5 separate regions of the Homo sapiens genome follow, and all the other regions are linked to region 1. Evidence: promoter capture Hi-C in 16 types of primary human blood cells and fetal thymus (Javierre and others, 2016). All regions are on one chromosome and are shown on one strand. The core of a region is centred on a gene start or on the middle of the fragment in contact, and the rest is flanking DNA. Distances in the headings are between cores, read along the strand shown. Region 1 holds the start of ARHGAP31-AS1 (ARHGAP31 antisense RNA 1). Region 2 overlaps POPDC2 (popeye domain cAMP effector 2). Region 3 has its middle 7.2 kb from the start of COX17. Region 4 holds the start of NR1I2 (nuclear receptor subfamily 1 group I member 2). Region 5 overlaps IGSF11 (immunoglobulin superfamily member 11).

Region 1 (2,700 bases), core at 24-2,523:
TTTCCTTCAAGTGTTTTTTTTCTATGTACATTTTCATATTGTGATTACACTGTGTGTGTGTATATATATATTATATATATATATGATTTTGTGTCTTGCTTTCTTATAACCGAAGTCTTTATTCAAGTTATAAAACCCTACATATAACATTTTAAGGCTCCGTAGGTTTTGTTTTGTTTTGAGACGGAGACTCGCTCTGTTGCCCAGGCCAGAGTGCAGTGTCACGATCTCAGCTCATTGAAGCCTCTACCTCTCGGGCTCAAGTGATTTTCCTGCTTCAGCCTCCCAAGTAGCTGGAACTATAGGCCCACACCACCACGCCCAGCTAACTTGTTTTTGTATTTTTAGTGGAGACGGGGTTTCGCCATGTTGGCCAGGCTGGTCTTGAACTTCTGACCTCGGGTGATCTGCCCGCCTCAGCCTCCCAAAGTGCTGGGATTACAGGCGTGAGCCACCACGCCCGGCCCATAGTAGTTTATCATATAAATATGCCAGTTTATTCCCTGCCTCCATTACTGGACATTTATAGTTATGATTGTTTTAATTTTATGAACAAGCCCACAGTGAATATTGTGAGGCATATGGCTCTTTTGTTATGTAATATTTCTTTGGAATAAACTCCCAGAAGTAAAATTGCTGGATTAAAAGGTGTGTTATTAGTCAGAACTCTCTTGGTTGTGACTGAAGGAACTCTGACATAAGAAAAAAAGTGGGGGTTAATTACTGATTCATAGAAGCAAACTTTGGCAAAGACAAGAAGGGAGCTGGCTTTAGGGAGCTGGGACCAGAGGCTGGAATTTTAACCTCCTGACTTTCTCCTTGTCTCTTGAATTTATCTTAGACATAAATGAAAATAGAGGTAACTCAAAGCGTCTAACCCACAGTGACAATTGCTGCTCTGTTTTTAGAGCCGGGATTTTGTTCGTGGACTTGCCTTGCCTGGTGGTTGAACTTTGCAGCCCCTTCCTCCTCCGGGCAGCTTCTCTCAGTGGCAGCTGTGTTCCCCATGGTTTGTCCTGGATGTCTCCCTTGTGCCATCCTTGCAAGCCCGCGGCCAGCGCCTCCACCCACGCTCCGGCCTTGCTCCCACTCCCACCGCTCTGCCACCTCCCACCTCAGCCTCCCACCTTGGTGTGGAGGGACCAGCGTCGAAGACAAAGGAATCTCTGACGAGAACCGGCCAGTCCGGGAGGGACGGCGGGGAAGGGGGTGCTGCTCTGGCGGAGCCCTCACTTCACTCGCTTCCCCTCGAGCGCCCCTCTAGGCTGGGGCCCGGCCGCTCTGGGCCTGCTCCTCCTCCCGCTCCTGTTGCGGGGCACCAGGTCAGACCCTACAGGGGGCTCCGCCAGGGGGAGGGGGAGAGGGGCTCCCTTCAAACTCGGCCCGGCCGCGGGGGTCCCGGGTGCCCTCTGCTGGGCTCCTTCCACGTCCTTGTCCCTCCTGAACTCCCGTTCCAGCCCTGCCCCCGCCCCGCAGTAGGGAACGGACTCGTTTCTGCCCCGCCCCGGGGTCCGGGCGCCCGCCCGGCGCTTCAGCTTCAGCAACGTCAAGGCCACGTTCCCTCCGCTCCAGCTCGAAAGACGGTGGCGCTGACTCTGCTCTGCGCGCCGCAGCTTCCTCCCGCTGCTCCGCCCAGCGGTTTCTGATCCCCTTTCGGCGCTGGGGACTCACACGCTGCGGCGACAGGAAAGCCCGCGCCCCCGGCCGCTTCCCGGAACGCCCTCGGGGACGGCTGAGTCACTTGGCGCCCGCCCGCGCGGCCACCGAGCCCAGAAGCGGGGAAAGCCCAGAAGCGGGGAAACCCCAGGGACAGCCGCCGGCCCTGGGGGCAGCCAGCGCTCCAGGCCGCCCAGCACCTCGGGCCCGGATGGGCTTCTCGCGCCCCAGGGCTGCGGCCACACCCCGCCGGCCCAGACCCCGCGGGTAGAGAAAGGAGGTGCAACCCTGAGAGCCAAGACGTTGGGCTTGGCTTTGCTTTGCGTTTCTTTCCTTTTTTCTTTTGTTTCTTTTCTTCTTCTTTTTTTTTTAACCACATCCAGGAAGAGGAGAAACCTGTCTCATGACAGGAAACGAAGAGGGAGGATGCATCCGAACTGAGGGACATTGTTTCAGTTGCCTCACCTGACATACTGTCTCACCTGAGAGAGGGAGGCCGAAGAGGCAGCCAATGGTGGCTGGAGCAAGCCCTGTCCTCGTTACCTGGGCTGTGGCTGAGCCCTGGGGCTCACCGGCTGTATGGCCCTGGGCAAGTCCTCGGAGCCTTAGGTTCTCTGCAAAATGGAGATGATGTTTAATAGAAAATGTTTCTATAACTTTTGTGGCTTACTTTTTGAAAAGCGAGGGAGGGACTTTTGTCCTTCCCTCCTCGCATCTCAGTCGCAGTGCTGGTTCACAATCAGGCTGTTAACGCGGTTTCCACATTTCCTGTCCTCCCCCTTCCCCTTTCCTGCTGGGAATAAGAAGGTGGGCCCCCAAGGAGACAGAGGGTACACTCGTAAATGAAAAAGAAAAGTCAGCACAAGGACCCTTTGCTGCGGAGATTTCTTTTTCCAGGTATCCTAAGTGGGGCTCTTGCCATCCCTGCCATCCCTGCTCTACACCGAAGGGGTGAAGTCCTGGGACTCTGTTATGCCCATCTGTATGTAATCCTAGGCAAGATTATTACAGTAGCGCTTTCCTCTTTTTAGAATATACCCTTGT
Region 2 (2,700 bases), core at 22-2,521, 330 kb after region 1:
TTATTAGTATTTACATCTCCCCAGTGATTCTAATGTGTAGCCAAGATAGAAACTACTGCTTAAGAACTCTGCTGCTGGCCCGGCGCAGTGGCTCACACCTGTAATCCCAGCACTTTGGGAGGCTGAGGCAGGTGGATCACCTAAGGTCAGGAGTTCGAGACCAGCCTGGCCAAGAGAGTGAAACCCCCATCTCTACTAAAAATACAAAAATTAGCCAGGTATGGTGGCGGGTGCCTGTAATCCCAGCTACTTGGGAGGCTGAGGCAAGAGAATCACTTGAACTCGGGGGTGGAGGTTGCAGTGAGCCGAGATCACACCACTGCACTCCAGCCTGGGCAAAAGAGCAAGATTCTGTCTCAAAAAAAGAGAAAAGAATGCTGCTGCCTATTTAAGTTTACATTTACATTAATTAAAATTAAATAAAATTAAAAATTCAGTTCCTTACCTAATTACAATATGGGTGTTCAATAGCCACATATGGCCTGTGACTACCATGTTGTACAACATAGATCTAGAACGTTTCTGTCATCACAGAAAGTTCTGTTGGATCCGCTGCTCCACAGATTCTCCTTTCTCCCTTCCCATTAGCTACATGAAGATTCATGCTTACATTTAACCACTTTGTAGACTTTGAAGGAAGTGGCAAGTCTACCATATGCCAGACTCTGCTAGACACTTTACCAGTGTTCTCTTATATAATGTTCACAACACCACAAGGTAGATTATTCTTTTCTGTATTTTATAGCTAAGGAAACTGGTGCTCAGAAGGGTTGAGTGGCGAGCTTAAGGCTACATAGCGATCAAGTGGCGGAACTAAAATTCTATGTTCTTAGCACAACACCATGTTGCCACCCTATTACTACAGCTTTGGGTAGATGGTAGTGGACTCTCCTAGCATGACCCTTTCCCGGACCTCTCTAACCGTAGGTGACAATAACAGCTTGTTTCTTTAGACAATGAGATCCCATGCACCCTATCCAGCTGATGGTCCTAGAGTGAACACCTGACTCAAGCTGAGCCAATCAAACTCCTTCCCTGGGAATTTGGAAATGGAATTGCGTGTAAATCATGCCTTGGATGGGGACAATTATCAGGCATTATTAACAAAACTAACACACTCCTCCCTGAAGGAACTAAAAAAAATTTTTTTTTATCACGTAACTCAGACTTTGAAAAGCATGGGTCCCAATTGGCTATAGAGAAAATAAACTTGAAATCACATAAAATGTCCTAGTAGGACATGTTCTTGTTTCTAGCACTACCTGAGGCTTAGGTGCATGTCTTTCCTTGAGTTTCATAAGAAATCCTTGTATTTTTTTAAATAAAGACCTTTTTTCCCCCTTCTGTTGGCTAGAGTGGGTTACTGTGGCTGCAGCCAGAAATCCGAATTATTTGCTTTAATTTTATGAATATTCTTAAGTCTTAAGTCTTAAGTCATTAACTGCTCTTGACTTGCCCATGACCACAGGCTTGGTTTCACAACTTAAGGGGTTAGGAGCCTTACTATTGCTGCTTGGTGCCTTTGTACCCTTGTGGCTGTACCTAGCCTAGTGCTCTGCCCCTGCAGGGTAAAAAGACTGCATTCCATGAGAACTTGTTAGAACTGATGGCATGTCATTGATGATGCCTGAGGACAGGGAGTGTATTTCAGATGTGAGGCCACATCTGGAAGAAGATTAGAATCCAGTATGGGCTTTATCCTTCCCCCAACCCGACCCCTGCCCAGAAAACTCAGAGTTTCATCTTTAACCTCTCTTCTAAAGTGAGTTATATCAGGCAATAGGGGTGCCTCTATTAGGCAAAGGGGGAAGATGAAAAAGATCTCTAAGGTACACCTTGTTCATTTGGGGGAGATATCCTTCCATTATTTCTGGAGGTTTATTGGCTAAACAAATATTTCTGGAGCATCTCTCATGTTTCTGGAGATCTGGGAATGCAGAGATGGGCACAATCTGGTCTTTGTCTTTGAGGATTTCACAATTTAGTGGAAGTCACAGGCACATAAATAACTGGCTGCAAGTCAATGTGATAGGTGCTATTGTGGAACAGTAACAGAGGAGAGAGAAAGATTGGTTCTCTTTGGGCAGCAGACCTCTCGAAGGAGATGACATTTGAGCTGAATTTTGAGGGATGCAAAGGGTATTGAGAAGCAGATAAAGATGAGAATGAACAAAGACCTGGGAAATCCAGTGTGGCAGTCTGTTCTCCAGTATCTGCTTTCTTCTCTTCCTTAATGGTGCTAGATTTTAACTGGACACATGACTGCAGAGAAAAAAATCAACATTTCTCTACTTCCCTGGCTGCTAGGCATAGGCAAGTGATAAGTCCTGGCCAATGGGATATCAGCACTCCTGAGCCTTGCTCTTAATGAATGCCTAGGTATACATGCGTGTATACAAATTACCAAAGACCAGCACCAATTAAAAAAACAATTGCACCTATTATCTGACAACCTAAAGCTGGAAGACAGGAGCTTTATTCAAGACTCTGAATAAATATGTATGGAAGGGGGAAAAGAAGGAAAGAAGGAAGCAAGAAAGTAAGGATGAATAAATGAACAAAGGAAACCAAGGAACAAACTCACTTGTGTCACCATAAAAGGGGATCAAAACCTCACTGAAAAGCTTCCATAGCAAAGGAAGACAGCAGAAGAGAATGGCGCTGCTGCAGCATATGTCAGCTCCTTAGGCGAGGATTTCG
Region 3 (2,700 bases), core at 173-2,672, 360 kb after region 1:
ATTTTGTTATTGCAACCCAAGGAGACTAATACAGCTGTATAACAATATTACCACATACCTGGTGGTAATACATATTTATTATCTCACAGTTTCTGTAGTCAAGGGCATTACTTAAGTGACTTCTTTGATTAGGGTCTTACAAGACTTGAATCAAGCTTTCAGCTGAGACTGTGGTCTCATCTGTGGTTCTACTGGGGAAGAATATGCTTCCAATCTTATGTTGTTGACAGAATTCAGTTTCTTGCTATTGTAGGACTAAAGGCTTTGGTTTCTTGCTGGCTATCAGTTGGAGGCTACCCTCAGCTCCTAGAGGCCTCCTGTAGTTCCTTGCCAAATAGGGTTCCCAACATGGTCACTTACTTCCTCAAAGCCAGCAAGGGATAGAGAGCCACCCAGAAATATGGGCATTACAGTCTTATGTAAGAGAACCATGTAATTACATCTATCATATCATATTTGGCATATTCTATTGGCTAAAATACTTGAAAAGAGGGGATCACATGAGAACATGAACACCAGGAGGTCAGGATCCAGGGGCCACCTTAAGAATCTGTCTACCACAGGTCGATTATCTAAAGTGAAAAATTGATTATACAAATGGAGTCATTCCTGTTATACCCAACTAAAATTTAGAGTTAGAGGACCATAGGGGTGAAAAAACACTCAGGTCTCAAAAGCCTGCTCCAGAAACTGTCCCACAAGCCCAATCCAATGAAACAGCTGCTACAATTTTAAGACTAGTTTGACAACAAATGGCTGCCATGACTTCAAAGCTTGTTTTACCTAGTAACTTTTGCCACCCAGCAATCAGAGCTTGCCAGCTCCTGCAAAATGCCACAAGCACCAATAACCTTTCTCTTTTCCCAATGAAACCTCAACCATTTCCTTTTTTTTTTTTGAATATATTGGAGACCACTTCAGTTTGTATGTTTGTCCCAGATTGCAATCCTATTTCTTTGTTTATTTCAAAATAAACTCTTTTTGCTTGGAGATTAGTCTCTATCTGTTATTGACATTACATGGTGTCAGAAGTGAGATGCAAAGCAGATTCACTTGGAAAGATAATGGCCCCTGGAACTATGGTGTGCAGTACTCACTGTCAGACCCCTTGAGCCCCCTACTTCCGCTGGTGATCTTTTTTCACCCCAGTGAGTCTTTCTTGGGTTAAACACCCCTTTTTTTTTTTTTTTTTTTTTTGGATTTGAGTTCTTCAGCTTTATTTGGGATTTCTTTATGAAGGGCCTTTCCTCTCCTATTTATTAGGCCTCTATTTGTAAGGGATTTGAAGAAGGCTTTGTCATTCTTCCCGGTGAGTATGTACTTTACTCTTTGGTTCATTTTGTGTGCTTGATTTTTATTTTGGCTTTTGTGTGTTTGGCTTTGCACTGACTCACTTGGATATGTTTATTTACAAATGAACTCCCCAAATTCAAAGATATACCAAAATAGCCCCCCAACATTGGGGACTCTAGCTTGTTATATGCTTAATTATTATGGTCCATCTTCCTATTCTTTTTTTATCGCAATGGACCAATTACACTAAAGAAAATTTGGAATTACAATGGCCATCTCTTGAACTCCCTAACTTGTTTTCTTAGAACTAAATTAGAAGGCCATGGCTACAAAATTAAATTGCCTGAAAGGAGCATAAACTTTAAGTGGTATCTTGAAGCATCTAAATGTATTCAAGCCTCAAAAATCACCTAACTCCAAAATACCATCACTAAGTTAACTAAGACAGATAAACAACGAAAGGAAGATTTTAAAAGGCCTTAGAAACTCAGAGTTTTTCTGCTCCCCTGGTACCACCACCTCTCTCTCCTCTCTACCCTTCCCTTTCTGAAAACCCCACTCAATCCTGATACTTCCTCCCCTACTACCCTCCCAGCTTCTGATCCCCATCCTCAACCTATAAAAACTTGTCCCTGTAGGGTTAGACCCACTAACAATCCTGAGGTTCCTTAGATTGTCTATGCCCTTGGAATAAGGCTGAAATCCATGTTAAAGCCAAGGAATTTCCTAAAGTTACCCAGGACCCTCTTTGCTTTGCTGATGAATTTAACATTACAATTGAAGCTTACTAGCCCAGCTTCTCTGATCTTAATCAACTTGTCCACATGCTTGTGGGAGAAAGCCAGGCTAATCACTGGATGAAAAAGGTCAGTTGTGGCTGGGTATGGTGGCTCACGCCTGTAATCCCCACAATTTGGGAGGCTGAGGTGGGCAGATTACCTGAGGTCAGGAGATCGAGACCAGCCTGGCCAACAGGGCGAAACTCCGTCTCTACTAAAAATACAAAAATTAGCCAGGCCTGGTGGCACACATCTATAATCTCAGCTACTCAGGAAGCTGAGGGAGAGTCATTTGAACCCAGGAGGCGGAGGTTGCAGTGAGCCGAGGTCACTCCATTGCACTCCAGCCTGGGTGATAAAGTGAGACCCTGCCTTAAAAAAAAAAAAAAAAAAAGGAAAGAAAGAAGAAAAAGGTCAATTGCACACACCCTGTATTAGTCTGTTTTCATGCTGCTGATAAAGACATACCCAAGAAGGGGCAATTTACAAAAGAAAGAGGTTTAATTGGCCTTTGGCCTTACAGTTCCACATGGCTGGGGAAGCCTCACAATCATGGTGGAAGGCAAGGAGGAGCAAGACCCATCTTACATGGATGGCAGCAGGCAAAGAGAATGAGGAAGATGCAAAA
Region 4 (2,700 bases), core at 11-2,510, 460 kb after region 1:
CCAGTCCCCACTGCTGGCAGTAAGTCCCCAGCAGTGAGCTGTGTAAGCACCTTACATTCTGCGCTTGGTTGAAAACAGCAAGGCAAGCATCCACTTGAGAAATGTCAACCCCTAGGAAATCCCAGCCTCAAGTCTTTCTCATCCCTTGGGAAGTGCAAATTGGATAGAGAAGAAACCAATTAAAAACAAAACAAACAAATCATACTTAGATATTCTGGCTTTTCTCACCAGGGCTGGATTAAAGCATGTACTTCAAAATAATAACAACTTAAGTCAATAAATAAATGTAAGGAAGTCCAAATGTTCACCTGAAGACAACTGTGGTCATTTTTTGGCAATCCCAGGTTCTCTTTTCTACCTGTTTGCTCAATCGTGGTCTCCCTCTCCCTCTCTTGTTGGGGCCCATGCCCCTGCTTTACTGTTGCCAGAGGCTTGTACTTGTTTGCCTTTTAGGTAGGAGCAGTTACTTCCACTCCCCTCACCTGCCATAAAGCATCTTTATAAACAAAGCAAGTAGAAGAAACACATCCTGGTATCCACCACATTCGGCTTTTGTTGATTCTGTTCACTTGGGAGCACCTGCTGCTAGGGAATAAGAAGGTTGAGGCTGAAGAGTGAGGACTCTTCAGCTCCCCTCTGGCAGGACCCGGGAGAGGAAAGAGCCCTCAGCTGGTCCATCCTCCCCACTCCTGGTCAGCCTTCTGTTCTGAGATCAAAGTGGTGGGGTCACATTCTCGAGAACTGTGCTCAGCCCCCTCATCTCACACCCTTTCCCTCTCCCTGTGTGCCTGCCCCCCTCTTACATAACCATGCTGGTGATTGGCACCGTCATAAATCAATACTTTGCTCACTTTCACATCAAGTAACACTATCCAGGGAGGTGGTTTCAACAAAGGAGGAAGTATAAGGAGATCTAGGTTCAAATTAATGTTGCCCCTAGTGGTAAAGGACAGAGACCCTCAGACTGATGAAATGCACTCAGAATTACTTAGACAAAGCGGATATTTGCCACTCTCTTCCCCTTTTCCTGTGTTTTTGTAGTGAAGAGACCTGAAAGAAAAAAGTAGGGAGAACATAATGAGAACAAATACGGTAATCTCTTCATTTGCTAGTTCAAGTGCTGGACTTGGGACTTAGGAGGGGCAATGGAGCCGCTTAGTGCCTACATCTGACTTGGACTGAAATATAGGTGAGAGACAAGATTGTCTCATATCCGGGGAAATCATAACCTATGACTAGGACGGGAAGAGGAAGCACTGCCTTTACTTCAGTGGGAATCTCGGCCTCAGCCTGCAAGCCAAGTGTTCACAGTGAGAAAAGCAAGAGAATAAGCTAATACTCCTGTCCTGAACAAGGCAGCGGCTCCTTGGTAAAGCTACTCCTTGATCGATCCTTTGCACCGGATTGTTCAAAGTGGACCCCAGGGGAGAAGTCGGAGCAAAGAACTTACCACCAAGCAGGTATGGTTTTTCTTTCTTTCTCTTTTGCTGGGGGCTGACCGCCCTTCAGCTCCAGCCAAAAGATGTGTGTGAACACAAATATACCTTCTGTTTGAGGTCAGCATCATAGTGGGTCGTGAATCATGTTGGCCTTGCTGCTGTCTCCTCATTTCTAGGGTGGAAAAAAAAAAGCATGAAAACAATCACTTAATGTTGAGCCCCATTACTGATGCTCTCTGGTCCTGCACTAGCCTCCTAGAAAAATCACCACAGGAGAAGCCTTAACTACTGCATGAGTTACCACAAGTCACACATACAACCAGCTCCCTGTTACAGGGCTGGAGTCCCTGGACCCAGGAAATACCACCTCCAAGGACTGTGGGAGCTGGGGACTATGGGAACTGGGATCAACTCAGTCCTGATTCCTTTTGGCCTGCTGGGTTAGTGCTGGCAGCCCCCTGAGGCCAAGGACAGCAGCATGACAGTCACCAGGACTCACCACTTCAAGGAGGGGTCCCTCAGAGCACCTGCCATACCCCTGCACAGTGCTGCGGCTGAGTTGGCTTCAAACCAGTGAGTTTTCTACCTCTACTATTGAAAGGGCACCTTGTCCCACAGAACCGAGTCTTGCCTGCATGTGGTCAGTGCCACCAGGTCCTTCTTCTCTCCACTTTACAGCCCAGCTCGGCTGAAGCTATGGCCAGAGGCACTGCTTTAAGGCCACTCCATATCTAGGACAGGTCAACAGACACCTCTGAGGCCACTGAGTCTTGACTCAATGAATCAGCTATAGCAGGCACTATTCCTCTCCCACATGGCCTCTAATGATATGGTCAGAGTTGAAAGGATGCTAAGGGAGGCCTCAGAGGCTTATTTAATCAGTTGGTTAATGGGAAAAAGTATTTTGTGGTACACAAATACGCTTTAAAAATATTTTAGTTATGTCATAAAAGTCTAAACCTGGGGTTGACAAACTATGGCTCACAGGCTAACTCTGGCCCACCAGCTGTTTTTATAAATGAAGCTTTATTGGAACACAGCCATGCCCATTCGTTATGTATTGTATATGGCTGTTTTTGCCCTACAACATCCTTTCAACTCTGGCCATATCATTAGAGGCCATGTGGGAGAGGAATAGTGCCTGCTATAGCTGATTCATTGAGTCAGCAAAATTGACCAATTGCGAAAGAGACAGTATGGCCCACAAAGCCTAAAATATTAACTATCTGGCCTTTAACAGAAAAAGTTTGCCAACTCCTGA
Region 5 (2,700 bases), core at 126-2,625, 370 kb before region 1:
GAAGCATGCATAGCTGAAATGTGATGAAACCTCAACCTGAGATCTGTTATCTTTCCTTTGAGGGCTCTAAGCAGTTTCACTTTTGCATGTATTATTCTCAACATTCTTGCAAATTAGGTGGGCATTGCTGCTGTTACCTTCATTTTACACACAAAATAAGGAACGGAGTAATAAAGTAATCCAAAGCTTGCATAAAGTAATCCAAAAAATTTATCAAAGCCAAGACTAAAATTCAAGTCTCATGATGTTCACTTTCTTTCTACTGTAACACACAGCCCCAGGAGAAAGGATTAAGCAAACAGCTGTTCCAGGTAGATCAAAAAGCCTCTGCATACCTTCCCTTAGGGAAAAGTGATGAATTTACTCTAATGGGAGGGTAATGTTTGAAATTAATTTACCAATGAAAATTGGCCTTAGTCCTCAAGCCCAAGGCCTAGAATAAATTAGGTTCTGCTGGAGAGGGGAAGGAACAATTACCAATGCAAACCCTCAATAAAGAGGGAAAATATAAAGAATTATCCCTAATATTTATTGAGTCAGGAATGGAAGTATAAATTTTTACTTCCCATTAACCATATAATACTTGATGCTACCACTCTTTCTAAAGAAACCACAGCACATACACACTCACTCTATACTTTCTCTGTTTAAGGAGTAACATGCAGGCTCCATCATGAATGGCAAAAGAGAAACAATCCTATCCACTAACCTGAATAGCCCTAAGGGATCTGATCCGTTATATCACCTCCTCCCAGCTCAAGCTTTCTCCGGTTAAGTTCTAACAGAGTAAAAATTCTTCAAATCACCATTAAGGTTAAAATTTTGTTATTTCCTATCATAAACAATAAAGCATTATTCTAGTGATAGCAAATGTTGATTGCCACGACGAGATACAACAGTATTATGACACAGTAAAAAATTCCTAAGGTAATATGCCTTTTATATATTTTATAGAGAATATTCAAGGTTAAGGTTTCTCACTGATGTATTTCTCCTAGTGGGTGAAAAAAATACACACACGCAAACATATATATACCCCAACTCAATTTTCCCCATCTTGCCTGGAAAGCTATTAATAATGTATCTATATAATAGATACATTATAATAATACATTATAATAATGTATAAATGATTCCATTTATATCAAGTTAATAATAGGCAAAACTAAAAGTATGGTGTTAGAAGTCAAGACAGAAGGTCATGTGGGAAAATGAATTACTCTGTTCCCCTATGGAATTTTCTCCTCAACCTGGACAATCAACTAATGCCAGAGGCCTACAGTCACCAAACCAAGAGCTTTGATGGGGTTGGGGGAACCTCAAAAACAAACTTGTAAGCTGCTGCTTGGGAGCAGATTAACAGCTAAGTAGCATAAGACCAGTCTTACAGTACTGTGTATTACAGGTCTGCTGGCTCTGGCTTGGTGATTTCTCACCAAGGAATGGGTAAGTTGGTAGACAGTAATGAATGAATATATTTACAAGCCATTAGGTCAGCTCTATCCAATAGAACTTTCTGTAATGATGAAAATGTCCTGTATCTGCACCACCCAACATAGTAGCAGCCACATGTGGCTATTCAGCATCTGAATTGTACCTAATGTGACTGAGGAACTGAATTTTAATTTAGATGTCCACATGGGGCTAATGGCTAGCATGACAGATAGCACAGCTTTAAATACTCAGTCTTTTTATAGAACTAAGCTATGCTTGATGCATGTATACCTTATATCAGGGACTGCAACTGGTGATTCATAGACCAAAGCTGGCTGACAAATGAGTATGGTTTGGTGATCATAGTATTTTGGCTTTTAATCTAAATTGAAACTTATAGACAGGGTACTCCCCAGTTGGCCACTGTATCTTAACATTTTCTAATTCTCCATCACACAGATACAACTACACACACACATAAGCATTTGATTTTTCTATCCTACAAAATGTGGTAATATTATTTTTCAGATTCTTTTTCACAAAACATCACTTCAAGAAAGCTTCAAGTGATATTTCTTTTAAAAATAATAATAGACTAATAATAATATCTATCCCTTTATTGGTTATTTACTATGTGTTAGGAACCATTCTAAGTTCTTCACCCATATTAGTTCAACCCATCAGTATCGACTGGGATTGGTTCCAGGACACCCCCCAGACACCAAAATCCCCAAATGCTTAAGTCTCTTATATAAGATGGTACAGCATTTGCATGTAACCTACAAATATTCTCTCAAATACCTTAAATCATCTCTAGATTACATACAATACCTAACACAACGTAAATGCTATGTAAATATAGTATTGTTTCTATTTGTATGTTTTATCATTGTGTTTTTTTAAAATTTTTTCCCAAAATATTTTCAATCTGTGGTTGGTTGAATCCATGGCTGCATAACCCACAAATATGGAGGACTGACTGTATACATACAGACATACCTCAGAGATATTAGAGATTTGCTTCCAGACCACCAAAATAAGGTAAAAATCTCAATAAAGCAAGTCATACATATTTTTTGGTTTCCCAGTGCATATAAGTTGTATTTACACTATACTGTAGTCTATTAAGTATGCAGTAGCATTATATAAAAACAGTACATATCTTAAAGTAAAAAACACTTCATGGCTAAAAATGCTAACGATCATCTGAGCCTTCAGTGAGTCATCATCTTTTTGCTAATAGAAGGTCTTGCCTCAATGTTGATG

Evidence for each region. The method cuts DNA at HindIII sites, captures the fragments that hold promoters and counts their contacts. A CHiCAGO score of 5 or more calls a contact.
Region 2: a contact is called between a fragment that was not itself captured here and the fragment with the promoter of ARHGAP31-AS1 in region 1, in 1 of 17 cell types (erythroblasts). The highest score is 5.5, in erythroblasts.
Region 3: a fragment that was not itself captured here is called in contact with the fragment with the promoter of ARHGAP31-AS1 in region 1 in 14 of 17 cell types (megakaryocytes, M0 macrophages, total B cells and 11 more); the score reaches 11.8 in megakaryocytes.
Region 4: a contact is called between the fragment with the promoter of NR1I2 here and the fragment with the promoter of ARHGAP31-AS1 in region 1, in 2 of 17 cell types (erythroblasts and neutrophils). The highest score is 12.7, in erythroblasts.
Region 5: a fragment that was not itself captured here is called in contact with the fragment with the promoter of ARHGAP31-AS1 in region 1 in 2 of 17 cell types (naive CD4 T cells and activated CD4 T cells); the score reaches 6.3 in naive CD4 T cells.

What each region holds. Positions count from the first base shown.
Region 1 is chr3:119,321,487-119,324,186 of GRCh38, forward strand. It overlaps ARHGAP31-AS1 (ARHGAP31 antisense RNA 1), which reads right to left and starts at 1,274. Exons shown (of 2, transcript NR_046748.1): 1 at 1,128-1,274. The region is part of intron 1 of ARHGAP31 (Rho GTPase activating protein 31); the gene reads left to right. RefSeq lists enhancers at 945-1,802, 1,803-2,659 and silencers at 1,222-1,581, 1,632-1,981. The HindIII fragment of the contact is 4,466 bases long and covers 1-2,700 here.
Region 2 is chr3:119,654,969-119,657,668 of GRCh38, forward strand. The region is part of intron 1 of POPDC2 (popeye domain cAMP effector 2); the gene reads right to left. Among named protein-coding and RNA genes, the nearest start is that of POPDC2, 4.3 kb to the right of the region's middle. The HindIII fragment of the contact is 2,702 bases long and covers 1-2,622 here.
Region 3 is chr3:119,683,241-119,685,940 of GRCh38, forward strand. No RefSeq gene overlaps it. Among named protein-coding and RNA genes, the nearest start is that of COX17, 7.2 kb to the left of the region's middle. The HindIII fragment of the contact is 1,303 bases long and covers 772-2,074 here.
Region 4 is chr3:119,780,841-119,783,540 of GRCh38, forward strand. It overlaps NR1I2 (nuclear receptor subfamily 1 group I member 2), which reads left to right and starts at 1,261. Exons shown (of 9, transcript NM_003889.4): 1 at 1,261-1,460. The HindIII fragment of the contact is 6,406 bases long and covers 1-2,461 here.
Region 5 is chr3:118,949,538-118,952,237 of GRCh38, forward strand. The region is part of intron 1 of IGSF11 (immunoglobulin superfamily member 11); the gene reads right to left. Among named protein-coding and RNA genes, the nearest start is that of IGSF11-AS1, 7.8 kb to the left of the region's middle. The HindIII fragment of the contact is 1,233 bases long and covers 760-1,992 here.